7 separate regions of the Homo sapiens genome follow, and all the other regions are linked to region 2. Evidence: promoter capture Hi-C in 16 types of primary human blood cells and fetal thymus (Javierre and others, 2016). All regions are on one chromosome and are shown on one strand. Each heading gives the region's core, a stretch centred on a gene start or on the middle of the fragment in contact. The rest is flanking DNA. Distances are from core to core; before and after follow the strand shown. Region 1 overlaps TNS3 (tensin 3). Region 2 holds the start of LINC00525 (long intergenic non-protein coding RNA 525). Region 3 overlaps TNS3 (tensin 3). Region 4 overlaps TNS3 (tensin 3). Region 5 has its middle 210 kb from the start of SNORD151. Region 6 overlaps TNS3 (tensin 3). Region 7 overlaps TNS3 (tensin 3).

Evidence for each region. The method cuts DNA at HindIII sites, captures the fragments that hold promoters and counts their contacts. A CHiCAGO score of 5 or more calls a contact.
Region 1: a fragment that was not itself captured here is called in contact with the fragment with the promoter of LINC00525 in region 2 in 4 of 17 cell types (M0 macrophages, naive B cells, total B cells and 1 more); the score reaches 8.4 in M0 macrophages.
Region 3: a contact is called between a fragment that was not itself captured here and the fragment with the promoter of LINC00525 in region 2, in 5 of 17 cell types (total B cells, naive B cells, fetal thymus and 2 more). The highest score is 11.6, in total B cells.
Region 4: a fragment that was not itself captured here is called in contact with the fragment with the promoter of LINC00525 in region 2 in 6 of 17 cell types (total B cells, naive B cells, M2 macrophages and 3 more); the score reaches 13.0 in total B cells.
Region 5: a contact is called between a fragment that was not itself captured here and the fragment with the promoter of LINC00525 in region 2, in 4 of 17 cell types (total B cells, naive B cells, erythroblasts and 1 more). The highest score is 6.8, in total B cells.
Region 6: a contact is called between a fragment that was not itself captured here and the fragment with the promoter of LINC00525 in region 2, in 3 of 17 cell types (naive B cells, total B cells and erythroblasts). The highest score is 9.8, in naive B cells.
Region 7: a contact is called between a fragment that was not itself captured here and the fragment with the promoter of LINC00525 in region 2, in 2 of 17 cell types (total B cells and M0 macrophages). The highest score is 8.6, in total B cells.

Annotation. Positions count from the first base shown.
Region 1 is chr7:47,400,548-47,404,168 of GRCh38, forward strand. It overlaps TNS3 (tensin 3), which reads right to left. Exons shown (of 31, transcript NM_022748.12): 14 at 238-367. Among named protein-coding and RNA genes, the nearest start is that of SNORD151, 62 kb to the right of the region's middle. RefSeq lists enhancers at 1-836, 2,583-3,091. The HindIII fragment of the contact is 2,038 bases long and covers 818-2,855 here.
Region 2 is chr7:47,759,312-47,762,808 of GRCh38, forward strand. It overlaps LINC00525 (long intergenic non-protein coding RNA 525), which reads left to right and starts at 2,165. Exons shown (of 3, transcript NR_038407.1): 1 at 2,165-2,202. The HindIII fragment of the contact is 4,383 bases long and covers 1,162-3,497 here.
Region 3 is chr7:47,286,219-47,289,842 of GRCh38, forward strand. All of the region lies in intron 27 of TNS3 (tensin 3), which reads right to left. Among named protein-coding and RNA genes, the nearest start is that of SNORD151, 180 kb to the right of the region's middle. The HindIII fragment of the contact is 288 bases long and covers 1,590-1,877 here.
Region 4 is chr7:47,428,107-47,431,788 of GRCh38, forward strand. TNS3 (tensin 3) reads right to left here. Exons shown (of 31, transcript NM_022748.12): 9 at 206-270. Among named protein-coding and RNA genes, the nearest start is that of SNORD151, 35 kb to the right of the region's middle. The HindIII fragment of the contact is 8,256 bases long and covers 1-3,682 here.
Region 5 is chr7:47,257,204-47,261,095 of GRCh38, forward strand. No RefSeq gene overlaps it. Among named protein-coding and RNA genes, the nearest start is that of SNORD151, 210 kb to the right of the region's middle. The HindIII fragment of the contact is 275 bases long and covers 2,244-2,518 here.
Region 6 is chr7:47,354,064-47,357,715 of GRCh38, forward strand. All of the region lies in intron 17 of TNS3 (tensin 3), which reads right to left. It overlaps LOC124901629 (a long non-coding RNA gene), which reads right to left. Exons shown (of 2, transcript XR_007060319.1): 1 at 1-3,652. Among named protein-coding and RNA genes, the nearest start is that of SNORD151, 110 kb to the right of the region's middle. The HindIII fragment of the contact is 8,931 bases long and covers 1-3,652 here.
Region 7 is chr7:47,384,123-47,387,726 of GRCh38, forward strand. All of the region lies in intron 16 of TNS3 (tensin 3), which reads right to left. Among named protein-coding and RNA genes, the nearest start is that of SNORD151, 79 kb to the right of the region's middle. The HindIII fragment of the contact is 5,773 bases long and covers 1-3,604 here.

The sequences.
Region 1 (3,621 bases), core at 587-3,086, 360 kb before region 2:
GCACCACTCCCAAATCTGCAATAAAGACACCCCATGATACAGAAAGTATAGGCAGTTTCATTGGTTATCCATAATTTTTTTCCCCCAGGGATCAATGATCATTTTCTCCTACTTTGGGAACAATTTTGTCAGTAGGCTGAATTTTGGAAAGAGGGTAAAGGGGATAGTGAAAGAATCAACCAAGGAGGTTCAACCGCAGCTGCCCACAAGCACAGGGCCGCCAGCTCCGCGCCTCACCTTTGCTGGCATTGTCCAGATCCTCCTTCCCAAACACCAGCCCGTAGCCCTGCACAGCCCCAGTGTGAAACTGCAGGCGGAAAATGACGTCACGGGTGGCCGAGCGGTATTTCTTGTGGTAGCATTTCACCTGGGTTAGAGAGACAAAACAAAACAAAGTAGCTGCAGCGGGGGACACACGTTCCCGGCAAGGAACACACTCCGCGGAGGCCGGCACAGCAGGGCCTCCCCTCTGGACTCTGGCTGGGAGTTCACGCTTTGGAGTGGAACTTCAGCCCTGGGGCACAGGCGCCTGCAGACAGCTGGGGTGCAGGCAGAGGCACCACACTGCTGCTGCTGGGTGCGGGGCTCCACTGGAGGCTTCAATGTGTTCCCTGTGCTGCTCCTGTGGAACCGCAGCTCTGAACACCACTATCGCTAGTCCTCAGAGAGGCCACACCTAAACCCTTTCAGACCACGTGAATGTGCCCTGTTTTGGAACACATCCGAAAAATAGAATTCCATGGTCTCTTTTTTCTAGACTTTAACAACTGATTGTGATAGCTTTTCTTTGATCTCAATGCTCCATGTTGCAACTTAAAGCTTTTTGTTTTCCAAAAAGCAGCAGCCGGTCATTACTGTGTGTACTATCCTAAATGATTATGTGCATGCTGTAATTTAGAGACAGAGATACAAAGAAGGAGGAAGGGAGAGAGGGAGACAGAGAGGGTGTTGGCATTTAGACAAGTGTTCAGAATCACCCTGATGTGATCTGAACTCAAGCTGGGGTTCATGAGGTCCCCAGGGTGCAGCTCAAGCACCCTAAATGATTGTGCCAATGAGCCAAAGGGTAGAGCAAGCCCCTCCTTGCAGATGCTTGGCATGTGGGGAACGGTGGGCAGAGCAGGAGCCTGAGTGTCCTGACCTGCCTGTATAACTAGGTCCCCCCTGCTTCTTGTGACCGTGCGCAGCACTGGCATCATTGGAAGGGTTCTCAGGCCACAGCTGGGGGAGCTGCAGGGACAGGGATACCCCTCACTCAGAGATCAGGGGCAGGACCACCAGGTAGTGGCACTTTCCCAAATCCCCAGAAGGCCGAAGGCCCTGGACAGGCTGGATTCTGCTCTCAGACCAAATCGTGCACAGGCAGGTACCTCCCCAACCCCGAGGCTGTGGGGTAGTGACTACCAGAGACAGCCACGTTCCCATAAAAGAGACTTTTCTTGGAGAAAGATGGCTTTAAAATATCACATGCCTCACAACAGTAAATGAGAAGCCACCGCAGCAGGTATGATCCGGACCAGCATGCGGGAGAATTCTGCAGGGAGGGTCTTCCCTAACCAGATGAACATCCACCAGAGGAACAAAAAGCCCAGAAACCCAGCCCAGGAGGCAGGGAGCTGTGACTCCAGGCAGACCCAGAAGATGTTTACCTTTGTGCTATCTACAAGGAAAGGGACGGGTAAATAAACCAAAAAAATATAATTAAGACTGTGGAAGGATGTTCCCTGTTGACAAACATGACTGGGTCTCCCTTGTACGGCCTGGCGCTGGCCAGCGGTGCTGTAAACATGGGGCTCAGACTCAGGCCTGGCCTCCAGGGGCCCAGGAACCAGGGCGTTTGCAAGTAGAAAACTGGCATTGTGAAGAAATGTTGCCTCAATTTGCTTTCCAACAGCCAATGGCACGTTGGCCACAAATCTACCACCTCTGTCCGAGACTGACTTCTCAGCAAGACTCAATCAAAGGCTGCCCTTGCAGGGATCCTTCCAGGATGTTCTGAGAGTATCTGGGCCCCTCCTTTGAGCTCCCCATGCCCCACACTCACTACACTGACCACCCATCAAATGCTTCAACCTGGGGCATATTGTAGAGATCCCCAGAGGGAGGTCCTTCTGGCCAAGGGTAAATCCACACATGCACCCCCATTGATAGAGATGATAGCACCCACCTTTCCCTGTCTGCCTTCAAATGTGCCTGTCTGCCTCCACTAGTGCCTTGCAAATGGGGAGTGAAAAGTGGTTAGGGAAGGGAAAAGGAAAAGAGATGCCCCAATTCAAGCCAGTCTTGCTCTCAAATTTTATAAATATTTAAGGGAACCAGAGATTTAAAAAAATAAAAACAACAACACGATGTCAGCTGATAGCTCACGCAGCCTGTGCTGCCATGGGCGCCAACATTTGCCCACAGGAGTCAGGAAACTCCTCAGGAGGCAGCTGTGGGCTCAGTCCTGGCAGGCAGGGAGTGTCCTGGGTGAAAACAGAGGGAGCTGTGGGCTCCAGTACGGGCCACATAAGGGGCACAGTGGAATATCCCCAACCGCAGCTCACCGTGCCCCTCCCGTCAGTACCGCCCCGCCCAGCGCAGGGCCTCCTTCCAGGCCAGGTCCTGCCCTCCCTCTTCAGGAATCCAGGATGCTCCCCCAGGTCCCCCCACTGCTCCTCATAGCAGCTACACACAAACACACTGCTCCTCCCGCAGCAATCCCAGCTCCCTCCACATACCAGAAGGGAGGAGAAGGCAGGCCACGGTGCCCAGGAGGTACAGAGTGGCAGGAGATGGGAATCGGCCTGTCCCAAACAGGTTCCTCTCCAGGCCCCATATGATTCTCCTGTAAGATTCCTATTTTTCACAGCACAAGCTTTCAAATACTCCTAAGGCTCCACAGTGAAAGAAAGAGCGGTCTATCCCACTGGCAGAGAACAACTGCTGCCTGAAATCACGTGGCCCTCCCTTCAGGGGTTTCTCTGTGTATTTTAATGCTAACTTTGTTTGCTGGCTTGAGATCCTAACGGCCTCATCATACACAATCCCTGTTTCATATTAAACCTCTTTCCTCTTGATTAATGGAGGTAAACACCACCCTCCCCAGTCCTCCTGACCAAATCATGAACTGACTCCAGCTTCTTCTGAAAGACACGGAAAACCACAGGATTTTCCCTAACTCGGGGCTCCCAGCAACCACCATCAACACAGCAGGTCAGATCTTGAGACAAAATCCACTCACCAACCAGGAGCCCTCCATAGTGTGCAATAATTATGCATTATCTACATCAACAAATCTTTTTAGGAGCAATGGCAAGAGATCAGAATTATGCTTGTAATACTTAACAGAAAGAACAATCAACATGGTACTTGGTACGAGGGCCCCCAAATGCCTCCCTTTAAGATATAATAGTAATGCAAACATTTCGTAAAGATTAGACTGATTCAAGTCTATAATTTTCCCTTCATCCCTCCGGCTTTAACTTTATTTACCTGGGTCTCCCCAGAGTGTTTCTAGAATATGTTGATCCTTTGCCTTCAGATTTTAGAATATCTGCATTTAAAATAACAACTCAAAGATGTGCAGTCACAATTTTGTAGCATAGAAAAATGAAATAAGAAATAGCAAGCACCACAACA
Region 2 (3,497 bases), core at 915-3,414:
GTAAAGCCACCCTGGCACCACCCTTTGCTTACTGAAGATTCCCCCACCAAATCCACGTGCTACCTGTGCCTCATCCATCACTGGTTAATTACTCTGATTAAAATAAAGCAGTGATTTGATGTTTCCAAGGAGCTTCATTAGAATGAGAAAAAATTATATTTACCAAGGAAAGGAGGAAATGGTTGAATAAAAAATATGACAAGTAATTTAATTTTAGGTCAATGAATGCTCCACTGTGATTCAATTCTGACACATGAAACAAATAATGAGATGATCAAGCCCTCTTCTTCCTTGCAGAAACTCGCTAATCCATATGAATGGTCTGTTGTTCACGAGCATCTGGTTCCCTTAACAACCTGTGGCCTGTTTACTCCATGGGGAGAATCTGGTCCTCAGAGCAGCTTTAGGGTCCATGCACCTTACTGGACATCCATAATGCACCACAGAGTGTGGTGCAGCAATATGCCATGTGAGGATTTTTTAATCCTTGAAAAGTTGGGTGAAGAGGATAAGATTTTTCGTATAAGATAATACAGGCTTCAAAAAGTTGGAAAAAGAGCACATTTAGAAAGTCCCAGAGCTGGGATTTGAACCCCTGTGCTTCTGATTCTAAATTGCTTCCCACCACGCTCATGGTGACCTCTAGAAGGTGTTAGTGAGGTGGAGATGTACCCGGTAATCCTGCCAGTGCATCTGTGCACTGATTCTCTATTGCTGGCTGTCCTTCTTGGCATCTTATTCAACAATAGCTACTGTAAGGGGGGAAATAGTCTTATATTTTGTGAAAGAACTCAAATGGCCAATTCATATATGGCCAGTTTACTTAAGAATGAATTACCGACCGGGCACAGTGGCTCATGCCTGTAATCCCAGCACTTTGGGAGGCTGAAGCGGGTGGATCCCCTGAGGTCAGGAGTTTGAGACCAGCCTGGCCAACATGGCAAAACCTCATCTCTACTAAAAATACAAAAATTAGCCGGGTGTGGTGGCTGGCACCTAAAATCCCAGCTACTTGGGAGGCTGAGGCAGAAGAATTGCTTGAACCCAGGGGGCGGAGGTTGCAGTGAGCCCAGATTGTGCCACTGCACTCCAGGCTGGGCAACGGAGCAAAAACAAAAAACAAAAAAGAATGAATTACCAGGCTCTAAAAACCTATCAGTAAGCTTTTTTTTTTTTTTTTTAAAGACGGAACTTGATGCTAAGGAAATTGCAACAACACAATGTCCTAATACACTGTTGACAAGATTAAAAAATTTTTTATTTTTAATTTTTGTGGGTACACAGTAGGGGTATATATTTATGGGGTACGTGGGATGTTTTAATACAGGCATGCAATGTGAAATAGGCACATCATGAAGAATGGGGTATCCATACCCTCAAGCATTTATTCTTTGTGGTATAAACAATCCAATTATACTTTTAATTATTTTAAAATGTACACTTAAATTATTATTGACTATAGTCTCCCTGTCGTGCTATCAAATAGTAGGTATTATTCATTCTTCTATTTTTTTTTTTGGTACCCATGAACCATTCCCACCTTATCTCCCCAGTCCTCTACTATCCTTTTCAGCCTCTGGTAATCATCCTTCCTATTCTCTATGTCCATGATTTCAATGGTTTCGATTTTTAGATCCCACAAATAAGTGAGAACATGTGATGTTTGTCTTTCTGTGCCTGGCTTATTTCACTTAACATAATGTCCTCCAGTTTCGTTCCATCCATGTTGTTGCAAATGACAGGATCTCATTCTTTTTATGGCTGAATAGTACTCCATTGTGTATATGTACCACATTTTCTTTATCTGTTCATCTGTTGATGGACTGTAAATTTGCTTCTAAGTCTTAGCTATTGTGAACAGTGCTGCAACAAACATGGGAGTGCAGATATCTCTTCAATATACTGATTTCCTTCCTTTTGGGTATAGACCCAGCACTGGGATTGCTGGATCATATGCTAGTTCTATTTTTAGTTTTTTGAGGAACCTCCCAACTGTTCTCCATAGTGGTTGTACTAATTTACATTCCCACTAACAATATACTAGTGTTCCCTTTTCTCCACATCCTCACCAGCATTTGTTATTGCCTGTCTTTTGGATAAAAGCCATTTTAACTGGGGTGAGATATCTCATTGTAGTTTTGATTTGCATTTCTCTGATGATCAGTGACGATGACCACCTTTTCATATGCCTGTTTGCCATTTGTAAGTCTTCTTTTGAGAAATATCTATTCATTTCTGATTTTTTATTTGGATTACTAGATTTTGATTTCTGATTGGATTACTAGATGTTTTCCTGTTGAGTTGTTTGAGCTCCTTATATATTCTGGTTATTAATTCCTTGTCAGATGGGTAGTTTGCAAATATTTTCTCCCATTCTGTGGGTTGTTTCTTCACTTTAAGAAGATCATTAATTGCCTTAATCATTCTAAAAAGTGATTTGGCAAATAAGGGTTGAATTGTGTCCCCCAAAATGTCTATGTCCAAGTCCTAACCCCTAGTACCTCAGAATGCAACTGCATTTGGAAACAGGGTTTTTGAAAATGTGATCAAATTAAAATGAGGTTATACTAGAGTAGAGTGGGCATGTAATCCAATATGACTCATCCAATATGACCGGTGTCCTTATAAAGAAGAGGAGATTTGGCTGGGCATGGTGGCTCATGCCTGTAATCCCAGCACTTTGGGAGGCCGAGGTGGGTGGATCACCTGAGGTCAGGAGTTCAAGACCAGTCTGGCCAACATGGAGAAACCCTATCTCTACTAAAAATACAAGAAAAAAAAATAGCTGGGCATGGTGGCAGGCACCTGTAATCCCAGCTACTTGGGAGGCTAAGGCAGCAGAATCGCTTGAACCCGGGAGGCAGAGGTTGCAGTGAGCCGAGATTGCGCCATTGCACTCCAGGCTGGGCAACAAGAGTGAAACTCCATCTCAAAAAAAAAATTAATAAATACATAAAAAATAATAAAAAGGGGAAATTTGGACCCAGACATGCCTGGAGGGAAGATGATGGGAAGAGACACAGAGAGAAGATGGTTGTCCTCAAGCCAAGGAGAGAGGCCTGCAACAGATTCTCCTTCAGCCTTTAGAAGGAACAACACTGCCAACACCTTGATCTTAGACTTCTGTCCTCCAGAAATTGTGAGACAATGCATTTTTGTTGTTTAAGGCAACCAATTTGTGGAACTTTGTTCTGGCAGCCCTAGCAAATGAATACAACAAAATATATACTGTATTGAGAACCTTAATATTGGCAATACCATTTGCACAGGAACTCCTTGCCTTTGGTTGCCACCTAAGAAATCATGCATATGGACATGGAATTACACATAAAGTATATTTAGCTAGTTTTTCTTCAACATGCTATTGCAGGAGGACAATTCAAAAATCTTTCCAACTCCCACCTGATTTCTGAAGGTTCTCTGGGAGCCTGCGCATCAGCCATCAAAACACACTTGTCACATTTTTCTTTCCTTTTGGCCTCCTTTAGTGAAGTCAG
Region 3 (3,624 bases), core at 484-2,983, 470 kb before region 2:
TTGAAGGAGTCACAGATGGCTTTCTGATGAGGAGCAGTCTTGCTGGCTAGAGTTTGGTAGCAATCTGCTGTTTGGGGAATCTCTCTCCCCAAATGCAGGAACTATGTCATCATTCCTTAAAGCAGAGAAGAAAATGCTGCCACTAGGGAGGCTGTTCTACGGAGCACACATCAACCAACTGACACCAAGTGCCCCAAAGCCTCTCTCCAGCAGAGAACAGGCATGCCTGCGCCTGCCTATGATTGTCCAACTGCACCTGACCCAAGACCATCCAATGCCACTTGACAGGTGCTCTTGGCCAGAGGTGAAGATTCAGTGCCCAGTAAGAGTTACCAGGAAGGCACCCACCAGACCCATGGCATGGAGTTCTGTCAATTGCTAGGCTACTCTGGGAAAGGGACTTGATAACACAGAACAAAAGTCTGAGGCCCACATGTGGGAATTTGTCCTAAGGCAACAATCCAGATTTCAGAAAAAATAAATAATGCAGAAAGATGGTCCTCTAAGCATTGTCTGTGGTATTAAAAATTAGAAACATGGTAAATGAACATCCATAAGGAGGTGAATTATATGATGGACTATTGTGTAGCCATGAAAAAAATGAGACCTGCATTATGTTTGTAAAAACCATGGGTAAACTTATTATGCTAAGAGAAGAGAAAAGAATCGTACAGGCAGCATGACCCCAAGTACAAGGAAAAAGGCAGCATAGGATTGGATCTGCTTGACATCAGGAGTGGTCTTTGGGCTGGAGAACACTTTACCTGCTGTCCACTCTTCCTCCCAATATTCAGGGGCTGCATAGGGGCAACCGATCTATGAGTAGTTCATTTTTCCTTTTCTTTTATTTTCCATTTTTAAAACTTAAAGAACATATAAGACTCTATAAAAAAAAAAAAGTATACCTACCATATGCTAAAAAATGCAACTGCAACATTTCTGGGAAATCTATTAGAAGGCTACTGAAAAGAAGTAAGTCTTTCTTTTCAGGATTATATTATATTCCTCTGCTTCAACAAGAAACAATTAAGAACCGAGGCTTAAAACACAAATAGAAATTGTTTTAGAGATTGGAACAAAGGCATAATGGCCTTAATATTTAAAAAAAGGGATTAAACTGGAGAGCATTACAAGTTTATTCCCATCTTTGTGAGTTGTCTGCTAATATTTCTGAGTTTCAGCTTCCTGAATCTTTATAACGGGGAAATTGGACATGATCATCTCAAAGAACATTGCACATCCAGGAGTCTAGGACTCTAAGTGAATTAGGACAACAGATGAAGTTCAGTTTAGGAAAGAAAACTCACTAAATTGCTGGAGGTCATCAGAGATTGCAATAATTCCACCGTCTTGCTACAATGGTTGTTCTGCACTGATTCTAAACACCTGCAGCCAATCCTCCAGGTGAAGACGACACTAGCTGAGGGGTGGTCACTGTGACAGCCTCACTCCTCTGGTGACAGATCTGCTGTCCTGGTTCCGTGGCTTGGAATCGCGGTTAATGTAATGGACAGCAGACATTCGCAGCTCTCAATGTGTTTCAGAAATGAGATTTTTAAAGGAAAGAAGCTCAAGGCAGTCATAATTTAAGCTTCATATATAAATGCCCAACTCAGATGATCAGATACAAACTCCAAGTTCTGAATGAAGTCTTGACTCTAAGAAGACCCACCCTTAAAAAACATTTGGAGTTATTGATACATTTCATACGTAATTTTAAAAGATGGAAGTGCACTTAAAAATGATAAGTCAAGATAGAAGAGAAAGTTTTAATATCTAAAAACAAGTGCTATTAGGATGCACTGTTATGATCAACTAAATTCATTCAATTCATTTATTAATTCCACACTTACTGGGTGAATGCAGGATAACTAAGAAGCTTAAGGAGAAAAGTGAAATTGCGTGTGCCCTGGTGCTACCATATAGGGCTGAATGGGCAGGGCTGTGTCCCTGAGACAATATGGGCACAGCTGGACGTGGGAGCTGAATGCCAGGCCTAGATCTACCATTCAGGAGCCAGAGCTGCCAACTTGGGTCCTCTGTCTATGACATGGGATGACAGGACACTACACCCACACGCCCTGTGGGTGAAGGGGAGGAGACAATAAGCTGGGCAGGACAAGTGCTCTGTGCCTGTTGCTATCACCGTTCTTCTGCGCTTTCTTGAACACTGCCGATGCATAAGTTGTGATTTTAAAACCACTAATTAAAGGTTTTCAAAATTTCAAATACATTTTTAAAAGGTGCAACTGAAACAAATAAATCCATCAGAGTGGAGCTGGTTTTGTAGCCCTGTCTCCTCAGTTGAGAGTGAGTGAGCTGCTCATCAGATAGGTCTACAGTAAATTCCTGCATCCTTCTGGGCACTTCACTGGGACCCACAGACAGGGTCCACTGTTACTTTAACAGAAGAAAGCTAAGAACCATGATGGGCTCCAGGGACCCCCTAAAACAGATTTAGGGGCTGTGGCCCAGGACCAGCCCAGGTCCCTCACAAGGGAAAGGGTGAGGCCGGCTTCCCAGGAAAGGCCATTCCTCTTGGGCCAGAAAAATGCTCCCAAGGCATTGTCAATGTCCTATTCATTTAATCTTTTCAACTGCTATGTGTGGAAATATTATTATCCCCACTGACCAGATACAAACCTCAGGTCCGCATGGCTAAGTGATTTGCCAGAGATCAAAATCCTGAGTAGCAGAACATGGCCGGAAACCCATGACCACAGCTACATTTTTCATTTTGGAGCTTCGAGTTTTAGCACACTTGCAATTTGGGGCAAGCTATTTTCACCTTTGTTTTGGCCACAGATAACTTATCCTATAAGGAGAGTCTAAAATAACTTAAACACTACAAAATTCCATTCAAAACAGAGTAATTTTACTTTAGCTTGGTAACAGACACAGTGATGTATAATTTTACAGGGAAAAGCTACATAGAAGAATAATACAAATTGTAGAGGAAATAAGAAAATGCCTATACATTTCATACACCTTCATTGTGGAGTTACACCTGTAAACTACTCTGCAGATATGAGGTACAGAATGGAGGTATTTCTAGTCCAATTTTCTACCAGACTCAGAAATTCCCTCCCCAACATTTCTGACAATAAACACCTACCTTGCATGAAAAACTTAAAACAGTTTTGAAAGTCAGGGTTTGAAAGTCAGCAGTCCCCACTGTCCTCTCTAGCTGTGTCCCTCCCTCATGGCCACAGAACCACAAGAGCCCTATGGTGTGTGGTTTGTTTACAACCTTCTTAAACTGGGGCCACTACGACTGCATCTAATGCTGCAAAAGTAACCTGGCCTGGAACTAGTAAGCGATTACAGAAAGATGCTGGATACAAGGTTAATGTACAAATGGTCAACTGCTTTCCTACAGACCAGCAATAAACAAGTAAAATTTGAAATTAAATACACAATACCATTTACAGTAGCACCTCCCAAAAACTACTTACATATAAATCTAACAAACTATAGACAAGATCTATATGAGGAACACTATTAAACTTTGATGAAAGATACAAAAAACTAAATAAATGGAGAGATATTCCATATTCATGGACAGCAGGACTCAACTTTTGCCAAGGTGTCAGTTCTTCCTAATTTCATCTATAGATTCAATGC
Region 4 (3,682 bases), core at 754-3,253, 330 kb before region 2:
AACCTGGAAAATGCCACTTTCACAAGTGTAAACGCTTAACTGGAAACTGGGTTTCTAGGCACTGACCAACCCAGCACTGGGGAATGGGAAACACAGGTCAGCCGAGCCCTTGGTATCCAGAACAGCTCCCGCGCAGACAGCCTTCAGCCCCATGCAGGCCCAGCTTTTAGCACCTCAAGACAGCGAGCTGACATCTTCATCCTACCTGGCTGAGACGTTGGTGAAATGCATGTAGGATGATATGACCACTCCTATGCGTCCTTTCCCGCCCTGCAGGAGACAAAAGATCAGCTGATTTTCTCTGAAATCCCACAGCAGAGATGTAATTAGAACAGGAAAAGACTCACTAGTGGACAAAACAATAGAGAGCCTGCTTTGGTGGTAAGGCCAGCATTACCCACAGCCTTCCTGTCTGGGAAAGTCAGTACCCAGTGCAACTGGAGTCTCTGCAACAGGGAACCCGCACGCTGGGTGCAAACAGTAAGAGTGGGTGCTAACTGGAGCAGCTGTAGAAGCCCAGGAGGGCTGACCAACACAGCAGCTGCCTGTCATTTTACCCAATTAGGCTGGAAAAAACTGTGCCAGGAGCTGCAGCAATTAGCATGACTTAATTATCCAGGTCAGACAGAAGTGAACGCCTGCCTGCTCACGGGCTGACAATGATCAGGGCTGCAAACACAGCTCAGCATGATGGGACATAGATTCCAGCTTACTGGCAGCACTGCCGGCACCTGAGCTCCACATACACCGCCGCAGCCCACCCTCATTACACATAAAGGAACCACTGTCCCAGGCAGAAGTTCTGGAAAAGGACTCACTCAAACCATAACCACAGACACCAACAGCCCAGCCCACAGACCAGCAACACCAGCAGGAGAAGCAGAAACTATTGGACAGGCCACCTTCACCCAGGGCCACAGAGTGCCACCTTCTAGAACATACTCTTACAACCTACAACAGCAGATTGCAAACCACAGCCCAGGAGCTACTTCTGCCCATTACCTACTTTCCCACAACTTGTGAGCTAAGAGTTAGTTTTACATTTTCTAACTATTAAGAAAAAATTTTGAAAAGATAAGATTCCATGCCATGTGAAAATGTGTTGAAGTTCAGATTTCAGTGTCCAAACACAAAGTTTGACTAGAACATGGCCACTCCCATCTGTTTACCTACATCCAGGGCTGCTTTCACTCTCACTGCAGGGGTAGGTTTGAGTATTTGCAGCAAGACCACGGGGACTGAAAAGTGTAAAATACAATCTGGCTCTTTTTTTTTTGGAGACGGAGTCTCACGCTCTGTCCCCCAGGCTGGAGTGCAGTGGCACAATCTCGGCTCACTGTAAGCTCCGCCTCCCGGGTTCACGCCATTCTCCTGCCTCAGCCTCCCAAGTAGCTGGGACTACAGGCGCCCGCCACCATACCCAGCTAATTTTTTGTATTTTTAGTAGAGATGGGGTTTCACCATGTTAGCCAGGATGGTCTCGATCTCCTGACCTTGTGATCCACCAGCCTCGGCCTCCCAAAGTGCTGGGACTATGGGACTACAGGCGTGAGCCACCGCACCCGGCCTAATCTGGCTGTTTTTAAAAATATTTGCCAACCCCTGATCTGGAATCATATAAAGCCAAAAAGGCAGGGCCTCTAATATGTAGCTCCCTAACTTCTTGAGAAGAAACTACTGATCAAATTCAAGTCACAATTCTGATAAGCCCAGTCATACATGAAAGTCACCCAGGAGCATCCTTCTCTCTGTCAGTGAAAGTCAAGAGCATGCCTTATAGATACTCAATGCGGGCACTTGATACACTCTTTGCAGCTGAATCCTGGCACGTGCAATTATTAATGGTATGGCTACTAGTATACCTCTTGCATAAAACTATATTTGACAGCAATTCACCTACAAAGAAACAACACCTCAGCCAAAACAGGCACACATGGTGGTGACATTCACCCCATTATCAATCACTTTTGTGGCACTATTTATGGATGTATAAAGCAAGTATTTCTTTTCTTTTCTTTTCTTTTCTTTTTTTTTTTTTTGAGACAGAGTTTCGCTCTTGTTGCCCAGGCTGGAGTGCAATGGAACGATCTTGGCTCACGGCAACCTCCACCTCCCGAGTTCAAGCGATTATCCTGCCTCAGCCTCCCAAGTAGCTGGAATTACAGGCATGCATCACCATGCCCGGCTAATTTTTTGTATTTTTAATAGAGACGGGCTTGCTCCATGTTAGTCAGGCTGATCTCGAACTCCCGATGTCAGGTGATCCCCCCGCCTCGGCCTCCCAAAGTGCTGGGATTACAGGCATGAGCCACTGCACCCGGCCTATAAAGCAAATATTAAAAGATCTGAAGGGACAGATAGAAATACCACAACCGTACGGGACTTCAGTACCCCATTTTCAACAATGGACAGATCACCTAGACAGAAAACCAGTAAGAAAACAGGGTACTCAACCTGCACTTTAGACCAAATAGACCTTACAGACATATACAGAACATTGCATCAGAATACGCATTCTTCTGAAGTGCACACAGAAAGTTCTCCAGCATAGATGGCATGTTAGGCCACAAAACAAACCTTAACGAATTTAAGGAGACTGAAATCATATTCAGTATTTTTTCTTTTTTTTTTTTTAATGGAGTCTCCCTCTGTCATCCAGGTTAGAGTGCAGTGGCATGATCTCAGCTCACTACAACCTCCACCGCCTGGGTTCAAGCGATTCTCGTGCCTCAGCCTCCCGAGTAGCTGGGAATACAGGTGCATGCCACCACACCCAGCTAATTTTTTTGTATTTTTAGTAGAGACGGAGTTTTGCCATGTTGGCCAGGCTGGTCTCGAACTCCTGACCTCAGGTGATCTGCCCGCCTTGGCCTCCCAAAGTGCTGGGATCACAGGCATGAGCCACCGCGCCTGGCCTCAAGTATCATTTCTGACCATAGTGGTATGAAACTAGAAATCAATAACAGGAAGAATCTTGGAAAATTCACAAGTTTATGGAAATAAAACAACATACTCCTAAATAACTACTGGGTCAAAGAAAAAAAGTCAGAAGAGAGATTTAGAAATATCTTGGGAGAAACAAAAATTGAAACACAACACACCAAAACTTATGGGATGCAGCAAAAGCAGTTGTAAGAGGAAGGTTTATGGCAATAAATGCCTATGTTAAAAGACAAAAAACTCTCAAATAAAAAAACCTAATGTCAGGCAGGGCGCGGTGGCTCATGCCTGTAATCCCAGCGCTTTGGGAGGCCGAGGTGGGTGGATCACGAGGTCAGGAGATCAAGACCTTCCTGGCCAACATGGTGAAACCCCATCTCTATTAAAAATACAAAAATTAGCTGGGTGTGGTGGCACGTGCCTGTAATCCCAGCTACTAGGGAGGCTGAGGCAGGAGAATCACTTGAACCTGGGAGTTGGAGGTTGCAGTGAGCCGAGATCACGCCACTGCACTCCAGCCTGGTGACAGAGTGAGACTCCGTCTCAAAAAACAAAACAAAACACAAAACCTAATGTTGTACCTGAAGGAACAAAGAACAAACTAAACCCCAAATTAGCAAAGGAAGGAAAAAACAAAGGTCAGAGCAGAAACAAATAAAGGAGAGACTAGAAAAACAATAGAAAAGATCAACAAAACTAAGGGTTGGGTTTTCTGAAGACTAACAAAATTGACAAATCTTTA
Region 5 (3,892 bases), core at 1,131-3,630, 500 kb before region 2:
TTTGGTATGACACCATCTGGTTGTAAATTGATTTAAGGATAGGAACAGAAATTTGATCAAAAGTCAGAAATATTTTCATACCTTTGACCAAATCGTCCTCCTTACTCACTGGAATTTACATCAAAGAAGTGACATGAGTGGAGAAGGCTTTTCTGGGAAGGATGGGAGGGGCCGGGATAGGGAGGTGCTGGCAGGAAGGGGAGGATTCAGGAGGGAAAGAAAAGGGGAGGGGAGGGCAGGCTGCAGCCCCGGGGAACCTTGCACAGGCCTCGCAGCCTCACCCACCTGGGGTTGAGTTGGACTCTGCTGACTGTAGCCTCTCTGAGCCTCCAGTTCTCTCTGGAGCTCTACCTCATAATATCTACCCCAGTGGCTAGTTTTGAGGACTTCACAAGATAACACCTGGCACAAAGTAAATGCTCAATAAAGGTTAATACTAATATTACTCAGATAACTTATTAGGTCTCTGTTCAGAAACCAACCCTCACATTTTATAGTTATTTTTAAAATTTACGTACAATGCAATTCCTTTCTCTGTCTCTCTCTCTCGTCTACAGTTCTATGAGTTTTGACAAATGCACAGGATCATGGAACCAGCACCACAATCAAGACAGAAAAGTTCCACCCACCTCAAAAGTCTTTCTCACCATCCTTTGAAATCCAGCTCTCTCCCATCTCTAACCCAGGACATCTCCATCCCTAAGGCTTTCCCTTTTCCAGAAGGTCATATAAATGGAATTGTATAGTTTGTAGTCTTTTGAGTTGGACTTCTTTCATTCAGCATAATTATTTTAAGATTCTTGCATTCTGTTGAGAGTATCAATAATTTGGGGTTTCTTTGCTGAATAATATTCCATTGGATGGATGTACCCCAGTTGGTTGGTACATCCATCAGCTGAAGGACATTAGGTTTTCATTCTTGGCAATTATAAATAAAAGTTGCTCTAAGTATTCATGTAATAAGTTTTTGTGTGACCCATAAGCTTTCATTTCCACTGGGTAAACACCTAAGAGGGAGATTGCTGCAACATACATGGTAAATGTAAGTTTTACTTTACAGGGAAATTTTCAAACTGTTTTCTTTTTTTTGTTTTGTTTTTTTGAGACGGAGTCTTGCTCTGTCGCCCAGGCTGGAGTGCAGTGGTGCAATCTTAGCTCATTGCAACCTCCGCCTCCCGAGTTCAAGCGATTCTCCTGCCTCAGCCTCCCAAGTAGCTGGGACTACAGGCAGGTGCCACCAGGCCCAGCTAATTTTGTATTTTTAGTAGAGATGGGGTTTCACCATGTTGGCCAGGCTGGTCTCAAACTCCTGACCTCGTGATCCAACTGCCTCAGCCTCCCAAAGTGCTGGGATTACAGGCGTGAGCCACCGCACCCGGCCCCTTCAAACTGTTTTCTAAGCAGTTGACCCATTCTGTATCTCCACCAGCAAGCGTAAGAGTTCCAGTTTCTCTGCCTCTGCCAGAACTTGATAATGTCCATTTTTGGTTTTGTTTAGCTTTGCCTTGTTTTTGAACTAAGGGAGGTGGAATGAGAGCTCACTGTGCTTTTAACCGGCATATCCCTAGTGTCTCATGCTGTTACATTCATGTGCTGCCTTACCATCTGTGTATCTTCTTCCAGAAAGTATCTGTTCAAATCTTTTCCTTTTTAATTCAACCCTCACTTTTACTTGTAACTGTGTGAACTTGCCACATGCCTTTCCCTGCTTTGCTTTGGGTAACTAGAGGGAAATAAACCCATTGAAGACACTAAGTATGTATGAGACACACCCAGTCATGTTTGGCCATATGCCAGAAGGACTAGTAACTTTGCCATCTTACCCAGGGTGGCAAGTAGACATCCTTCAGCTTCACCCACACCTCAGGCAGCTGTCAGTATTTCATTCCAGGAGTCTTCTTCTTTGCTTTCAACTGGGCCATCATAGAGCGGCCAAGCTCTCCCAACATGCCCCCCGTGCACTCCAAATCTTGGGAGAGGGGTTGGAGACAGACTTTGGCTGCCCTAAGAAGACCCCAGGTTCCTGTTGCCCCTGAAGCTCTTCCTCATGACCAGCCTCGCCCACAGTGAATCTCAGGCTGTATGGGCTTAGGAGAGTTGCTCCAAGATTTAGGAAACCCCCACCTCAGGGCCCTGACTTTCCAGGCATGTCTCTCACTATTGAAGCTACATAGAGGATACTCAATAGAGAAAATCAATGGTTTTGGTGTAAAATAGTTATACCCTAGAAGTTAGCATTATAAAGCTTAGAGAAAAGTCACTCCTATAAATACCCTTGTAAGGAAGCTCCTCTGAGACATTCCTACAGCACTGGGCAGCCAGGAATGACACTGGCCAGACTGGAGTCCCTGCCTAAGATGCTACTTCTGGTAGCCAGGATGCAAAAGGGGGTTACTTAGAGAAAACCGTGGATGAACATCACTGTGAATCACCAAAGAAAGGAGAGAAATTGAAACTTCTGTATAAGACTGCAAAGAGGAGAGAAGCAAGGAGGTGTTTGCTTCTTACGCCCTTGGGAAGCTTGTCTAGTACCCAGGTAGATGTTTCCTATTTTGAGTTCCTATCATACTTTTCTCTCCCCTTCCTTCCTCCCTTCCTTCTTCCTTTTTCTTTTCTTTTCTTTCTCTCTCTTTCTTTCTTCTTTCTCTCTTTCTCTTTCGCCCCCTCTCTCCCTCTCACCTTCTCTATCTCTTTTTCTCTCTCTCTCCCTCTTTTTCTCTCTCTCTCCCTCTCTCTTTCTCCCTCCCTCTCTCTTTCTTTCTCTGTCTCTCTCTTTCTTAGAGATGGAGTTTCACTCTGTTACCCAGGCTGGACTCCTGAATAGCTGAGAGAACAGGCATGCACCACTGTGCTGAGCTTATAATACTTTTCAATAGCTCTTCAGAAGCCAAAAAAAAAAAAAAATGAGAGAGAGGGAGAGAGAATAACACATGGCAATGGCACATACACAGACACAAACATGTAAATATAGTTTTTACATAAACTAACACCCACCAGAGTGGCTTCCCCCAACTCATACTCCTTCCCTGGCTTTAGGTTGTCAAAGATGATCATATCTGATGCCTGATAACAAAAAAATGTTGATAAATATGGTAGTGATAATGGTGATAGTGATGGTGATGTTGAGGATGGTGGTGATAATGATGGTGATGATGGTGATGATGATGATGGTGGTGGTAATGATGATGACAGCGATGATGATGATGGTAATGAAGAGATGATAAAGTGATGATTTTTTCAGTAATGGTGATGATGATGATGATGATGGTGATGATGTGATGACCATGATGATGATGATGGTAATGGTGATGATGACAGTGATGAGGATATGGTAATGGTGATAATGATGATGGTGGAGATGGTGATAATGGTGATGATGATGATGGTAATGGGGATAATGATGATGGTGATGTTGATTGTGATAATGGTGAAGATGATGATGATGGTGATGATGAAGATATAGCACAATCTATGGAAAGTTCACTATGTCCTTGGCTTTGTACTAGTTCTTCTTACACATAATTTCATTCCATGTTCACAGCAACCCTTTTCAAAAATGGAGTCCCAGGAGCATGATCACACAGCGTGGACTGACCAGCCTGACTCTCACCCACAAACAGAGAAGGAGGATCATCAGTGCACAGCTCTAAAACACACTGTCACGAAGAACTCTGTCAATCGGAGAGGTTATTTCTTTTAAAACTGACATTTAAACACTTTCCTTATGCCATAAGCAAAAATCAACTAAAGATGGATTAAAGACTTAAATGTAAAACCTAAAACTGTAAAAACTCTGGAAGATAATCTAGGAAATTCCATTCTGGACATATAGACCCTGGCCAGGAGGGCCAAACAATTGTAACAAAAACAAAAATTGACAAATGGGACCTAA
Region 6 (3,652 bases), core at 277-2,776, 410 kb before region 2:
AATGCAATGAGATTGGGCAGTTTGAACAATGAAATCATGAATTGAATAATTATATTGTTAAGGCCTATTCTCCAAACACTACTACAAAACTGTCCATGCCTATATATTTTTCTGTTCAGTTAAGAAGTCAAATCCAGGAAAAGAGAAGAAAAAGGAGACCTCATGGGAGCAGGAGAGAGCTGCCACCACACAGATGGCTGTCACCTCTGGAAGGAGCTGATAAGGGGACAAGAGGGAATTTGCCAGCACTGGAGAGCACCTGCAGGGCTCTGGGCGATCCGCCCTCCCACCCCCAGCTCCCCAACGTACCCCTTCTCAGAAAAACCAAGGAGAAAGGGAACAAAACCCAAGCTCCCACACAGGGATGTTCACGGGCAAAGGGCAGCTCCCAAAGCCCTGGGGTGGGGCAGGGGGGCACCTGCATCTGGCTGCACCCATGGCACACACACCCTGATCTCTCACACCTGTGCCCACCCTGCTCCCAGCCTGAGGCCCAGGTGCTGGGGAAGAGCTGCCCTTACTTCCCTGCCAGTTCCCAGCCAGGAAAAAAAAAAAAAAATCCTGCATCCTCTCCTTACAAAGGTCATGAGTACTCAGTGCAGAAATCTCAGGCCCCTTGAAACCCCCAGTGAACACAGACCCCGGTGATCTGCAGGTGATGTGCAGCTTCACCCACTCCATGCAGCTGGGGTCTCTGTGGAGGGAGGGACAGGCAGTGGCTTTTTCTTTACACAGTCTTGTGCCCCTCTTGTCGCGGTGACACGCTCATTGTCCACCAAAACATGACATGGTAACATGGTCTCCAAAGGTCACATGACTGGACGCTGCCCATCTCTTTGGGCAGTCCCCACACCAGGCATTTAGCTGTCTTCGCCCAAGCCTCCTTCCCTCCAGACACTGGGTGCTACCCACCCAGAGCCTCGGGAACCACGTGACCTTGAGTATAAAATGGGACACATGCCCCAAAGTCCCCTACACTGCCACTCCCAAAGACCAGCATGTTTCCTCATTTAGCAGTCTCACTGTTATTCACGGGTGGAGCCGGCGTCAAGGACAGATAAGGAAACGTGCTGAGGGCTGCCCAGCCAGCAAGTTGCGCAGGGTCACCTGAGACTCCGCCACGCCCAGCGGGATCTGGGATTCACCACAGGGTGCAAAAGGACACCGAGCCTGCGAGGCAGGAGGACGCTCAGTCATTCCGGCCCCACAGGAGGAGCTGGGGATGGTGGGGCCTCAGCCCCAGGTGCATCCTATGACGTACCTTATCCAAAGCCACCACAACAGGGTGGGGGACGGTCCTGACAGGGAATCCTCACGTGCTCTGAGGAAAGAGCAGGAAAGCCAGTCCTTGACTGGGGGCACCCAGGGGCCTCGTGAGAAGGGGATGCATCGCCGTCAGAGCCCTGGAGAATCAGGGATTCAGGCCAAGACACTGGGTGCTGTACTAAACACATGTGGGACTGAACTCAGCCCAGCCTGGGGGTCAGCACTGTTGCCATCAATTCACCCCTGAGCAGTCTGAAGTGCAGGAGAGGGCTTCTCAGATCGCTTAGCCAGAAAATGTTTTTTAAATTTTGTTTAAAACACCCACAAAGCTCTTCGGCAACTTTCCACCTTGTCCAAATACACTGAACTCCCAATTATGTAAACTAATTGAGAGTGTAAAATAACACATCCTGATAGGTAAGTCAGTACTTATGTTGACCCTGAGCTGTGATTCTGTGATTCAGACTGCTCTTGGAGACTGATCTTTGCCAGCGCACGGCCTGGCAGATCCCAGGCCCTGAGGCTCTGCTGGGAAGTGGGATGAGGGAGGGGAAGGAAGATGGGTCAAGTGTTCAGGAGCGGACACCCACCATGCTGCCCACTCACACACTTCATGTCACTGCATTCTCTCCACTGTGGGGTCACATAGCCCACTCTGCCCTGGTGAAATAAAGCCAGCACCCAGGTGGAAGGCAGCCCATGGGGTCGCCTGCCTCTGCCTCTGATAACCAATACGTGACTGTTGGCTGTCCTCTAAATTCCACAGCAGGGTCACAAATCTTAGAACCACCCTGCGGCACGTTCCAGCCTCAATGAGCCAAGGGCCAGCTCTCCTGGAGGCTGGGACACGCACCTAAGTTGAGAACTGCAAATATACAACAGTGGTTCTCAAAGGCCATTGTCCACCTTTTATCACTAAAATCCTAAAGCTCGGGCCTCACCTGTGAAGTCAGAACCTCCAGCGGTGAGACCTAGGTGTCAGTATTTTTAAAAACTCCCTAGTGTTTCCAACACACAACCAAGCTCAAGAATCACAGCAGGTCTCAACCCTGAATTAGCACTGCATTATTTGGGGAGCATTTTTAAAGCAAGTCTGACATCCAGGCCCCACCAGGGCCAACTCAATCTGCCACCCTCTGGAGGTAGAAGCAGGTACCCACATTTTTAGCGTCTGCATTTTTAAAGCTCCCCAGGTGACTCCAACATGCAAGACAAAGTGTCCAACCTCTGTTCTAAAAGAGACGGAATCCGCTCCCTGAGCAAATCTTCAGGATGCAATATTGACTAAGACAGTAGACCTTAGGTGCTCTTACACAAAAGTAACTAGGTAAAGTGGTGGATATGTCCATTGGTTTGACTGTAGTGATCCTCTCCCTATGTATAGATATAACAAACAAAATATCATGTTAAACACCTTAAATAAATACGATGATAAATAAGTTAATTAAAACATAGAAAAAACAGGGGCCGGGCACAGTGGCTCACGCCTGTAATCCCACCACTTTGAGAGACTGAGGAGGGTGGATCTTTTGAGCCCAGGAGTTCCAGACCAGCCTGGGCAACATGATGAAACCCAGTCTCTACAGAAAAATACAAAAAAAAAAAAAAATGATCCAGGCATGGTGGCACATGCCTGTCGTCCTAACTACTCTGGAGGCTGAGGTGAGAGGATCAATTGAGCCCAGGAGGTCAAGGATGCAGTGAGCTGTGATCACACCAACTACACTGCAGCCTGGGTGACAGAGTGAGATCCTATCTCAAATGATAAATTAATTAATTAACTTAAAAAATAAGAACAGGTGAAAACTCATGACATGCTAGAACATTACCTATTTTAAAACATGCCTTCTTTCATTTTCTATCTGGGCACTAGAAGGTAAAGTCCCCATAAGCTACTGATTTATCTTGATGTGATCTTCTAGGAATAAAGCGCGACATCACACAGGTGTGCCTGATAGGTTCTGGAAGCTCCCTTGCATTCCTAGGAGTGAAAACAAATAACAGGCAAAGACTGCTTCACGGTGAGCTTGAGGCCTCCAGACTTCAGCTCATTCACACACACACACTAATCTTTTCGAGACAGTGTGTAAAAGGAGGCAGGGTGGCATGACAAGGATGCCCCAACACTCCTCCCAGCTGAAATGCTCCCAGAAATGGTTTTAGGAGTCTTCTCCCAAAACTGAAACAGGACTGATTGACCAGCCCCTTCCACGTGGAGGGCATAGCCTTAAAGAGCCGCACAACTTGCAGTTTTTTACAGCGTAATGTGTTAGGAAATCATTAGCCAGGGTTCTGACGGACATATCAAGACCAACCCAGGGAAGAGCCTTCCCCTCCCAGGCCCACCCTCCCTCAGTCGTGCTGTCTTCATGTCTAACCCTGATTC
Region 7 (3,604 bases), core at 24-2,523, 380 kb before region 2:
AACTTTCTTTCCAAGGACTCATCCTCCTGAGCTGACATCCCTACCTGTCCACCACACTGAGCCTGTGTGATCCCTGCTCCAATGTCAGGCCCCTCCCCACCCACATGGGCAGACAGGCCCGTCCCAGGGGGTCTCTGGAGGGGCAGCTGTGTGCCTAGAGGCCGGGAAGGGGCAGCCTGTGCCTCCTGCACTCCACTTCAGAACACTTTCACCCAAAACTCATTTCTCTCTGGAAACTGGTACCCCTGGCTACAGCGTTCTCCAGCCCTGCGGGCTGCCATTGCCCCTCACTTCCCAGCCCATCCCCCAAACGTCCATGCCTCCCTTGGTCCAGGTTCAAACACTCTCATCACCGGCATTTCTGTGGCTTCTCCTGGGAAACCATCAACATTTTATTGAGGCCCTGGCCTTGACTCTTTGGACTTTAGATAACTTTCTTTGGTTTGACTTTAGAATTTCTCATGACATACCCTCAACTTCCACCAAACTTTGAAAGCCTTGAGCTCTTCAGGAGTGGTGGCCAGGACTCTCCTTTCTCTAGCAGCCGCTACAGCTCCCTGGCTCCTGCTCTTCTCTGCATGTATCCAGCCCTTCCCTCAGCACAGTGGAGTCACAGCCAATGTATGTTTAACTCCAGCACCAAATTTAAGACATCGAGGGCAACACAGATCCATGGTGCTTCCTCTCCTAGCCCATCTAGACCCACAAGGCCTGCTGTCTCCCTCGCCTGTGGCCCACGTCCATGCCCCTGCTGATGTGCATGCCTCTGAAATCACAGAGGCCGTAACAGTGTGGCGTCCACACATCACTGGGCACACCACACTGCTCACCCAACAACCACCTGTTGCCAGGGGAAGCTCCTCCAAGCTGTCCCAGCTCTCAACACCTCCACTCCCCAGACTGTTGTCCACTCCCAACAGACAACCTCGCCTGCCTTGTACAGGTCAAGTGACGCCACAGCCAGTGAACTCACTCCCAGTCTGCTCTCTACCCTTCTCTGCATCCTGGCTCCTGCACCAGGCACCCTGCTTTGGACACACTCATGGTGCTCTCAGTCTCCTGCCTCTGTCAATCCAGTCCCTGCCTGAACTGAGCTCAGCACATCAGCAGAAGGAGATTCACAGCCGGCGACCAAGCCCCCACTCTTGGCTTCACCAACTAGCCCTCTGACCCCTCAGTGTGGTAAAGATTAGATATGTTAATGCAAGCTGCATGCTCGGAAGGTTGTGCAGCTCGTGAGCAGCACTCAGCAAGGGTGAGCTCTGACAACAACAACCATTAGCCATTCCAGCCCTGTCCTGGCCTCTGCACGGAGCTGTGCCATCCAATTCAGCTCTGTATCTGCAGCATCCAGCACTGCCGATGCTCAGAGAGGCAGGGAGGAGATGGAGACTGCATCCTGGATCCTACAGAGCCTGCCTGACAAGCACACGTGGCCTCTGGTTTTCTTTCATGAGCTTCCCAGAAGGTGACACTCTGCCTTCACTCCCCAGGTGACCTATTGGAATCCTCCGATTTATGATTAACAAGAGAGCAATATATTACATGTACAGGAATAAAGAATGAACTCCCAATACTACGAGAAAGATGGTTTCCTCGCAGCCTCTTCCCACCCTCAGGAAAGCACCCATAGTGCCCATCACTCGGTGGCTCCCCCGCCGCTTTTCCTTCTGCCTCATCCTAGTCAGGGGCCCAGCAGCATCCCAGACTCACTGCTACGAGTTCAGGGGCAATGTATGGCTACTGCTGCCACCAAAGGACGGCTGTTGAGATCTTGGCAGAATTCCCACAATCAATCAACACCAAATCTTGCTATTGCTCTAACCGTTTGGCCTAATTTCAGTGAGAATATATCCCAGGTCATAAATTAGCTCACATTCACACTGACAAAAATAAATACTATTGAATTTTCATAGTATAATTTCCCATAGACTGTCAACACCATGAATCCTAAATTAATTCAACTTTCCATAGTGAAGTCTGAAAGACTACTATGTCAAAGGGTGTATTTTCCTTGTTAAGAAATCATCACTATGCACTTATAAAGAAACACTAAACACATCTCTGGCTCTTGCTATGTGGAAGAAAACTTCCTGGGAGCAGTTGTACCCTCCACCTAGGCCCTATCAACTGGAGGGGGTCCCCCCACATCCACAACAGGCAGGTGCAGGCGGAGCGCACACAGGACATTTGCTGGGGACGCCCTCCTCCTGTCCACAGAAACCTGTTTTCCCAGCTCCTGGGGTCAATGGCTTTCCCTGCACTTCGCATCAGTCTCTCGGGCCCTAGGGATTTAAATCTGGGCTCCCAGCTCCAGAGCAACTGTCACTGGGTGTCCACCCTCGACAGGCCTTGACCTTGGCTCCCTCTCTGTGACATGCTCTAATAACACTCCTGGCTCACATAGCAAAGTGGTCACCCTGTCTCTTACCCCGATCCATGGACCTCCATGCCAGGTCTCCCCGACAGACAGCCAGGCAGGCTCTAGGTATATGGCTGTGCTGAGGCAACGAGCCGAGGCGGTCTCAGCTTTGCTCAGCCTGGCATGCGTCCCCATCCAGCACAGTGTCCACAGGGGGAAAGGAGTGCTGTGAAAACCAGCTTTCATCCCCAAAGTAGGTCAGAATTGCTCCTATCGGCAAGATAAACTGAGCAAGTCTGAAGATCCATTAAAGCTCGCTTTTCTTACATAACAGCACAAGCTGCCATTATATCAACCCTGTTTTTCAAGAAATAGCTGGATGTTTTACATAAAATATCCCTGCAATCTGTGCTATGTTAAAAAATTTAAGTAAGGAACACACCCACTAGTCTCTGACACCTATGCCTTCTACCTCACATGCCCTGCCCTCCATGGCATCTTAGATAACAGTAACAGAATACAACAACTGCATCCCCTCTGTCCTTGGACTTACAGAGAGAGTAAGTGACAATTTATATGCAACTGAATGCATGTTTAACATCAAGTAGCTTGCTTGTCAACATTTAAACACAACTTTAACTATCTAAAGTCCCAGAATCAACTGTACAGGGCCAGAGTGCCCAACTTTCAATAGCAGAACTTGATCTTCAAACAAATCTTTATGCAGAAACCCAATATAAAAACAGAAAAAGATCAAGGTGGGGCTGGGGCTGTGGAGGGTTCTTACAGGAGTGGATGGAGAGAGACTGGGGCTGCTCCTTAAGAACCAACTTGGAATCCTGGAGCCACAGGCATAGAGTTTGAAAGCTGTTGACCCCAAGAGTGTTGTTACTCCTAAGGTCAACGCCAGCACCAAGAACGTCACTCTAAAAGGCAGAAGAATCATTTGCTTAAAGGGAGCGTGCATGTGGATGGTGGTCTCCTAGCCCAGATGGCCGAATGGGGCCAGAGATGCAGGCCATGAGGGTGCACCTCCATGTAAGGGTCCCTGTCCCCATAAGGACAAAGGACCCAAGTCAAAGAGATTGTCCCAGCTGCACCTTTTGTATGAACACCTCCCTTTTCCACTAAGTCATCCGCAACCTTTCCCTCCCCTAGGAGGCCCTGGCAGCTCCATCTTGTAGCACTTTCCAAAGAAAGAAGTAGATGAGACAGTCTTGCATGCATAATCTAAAACGCCTC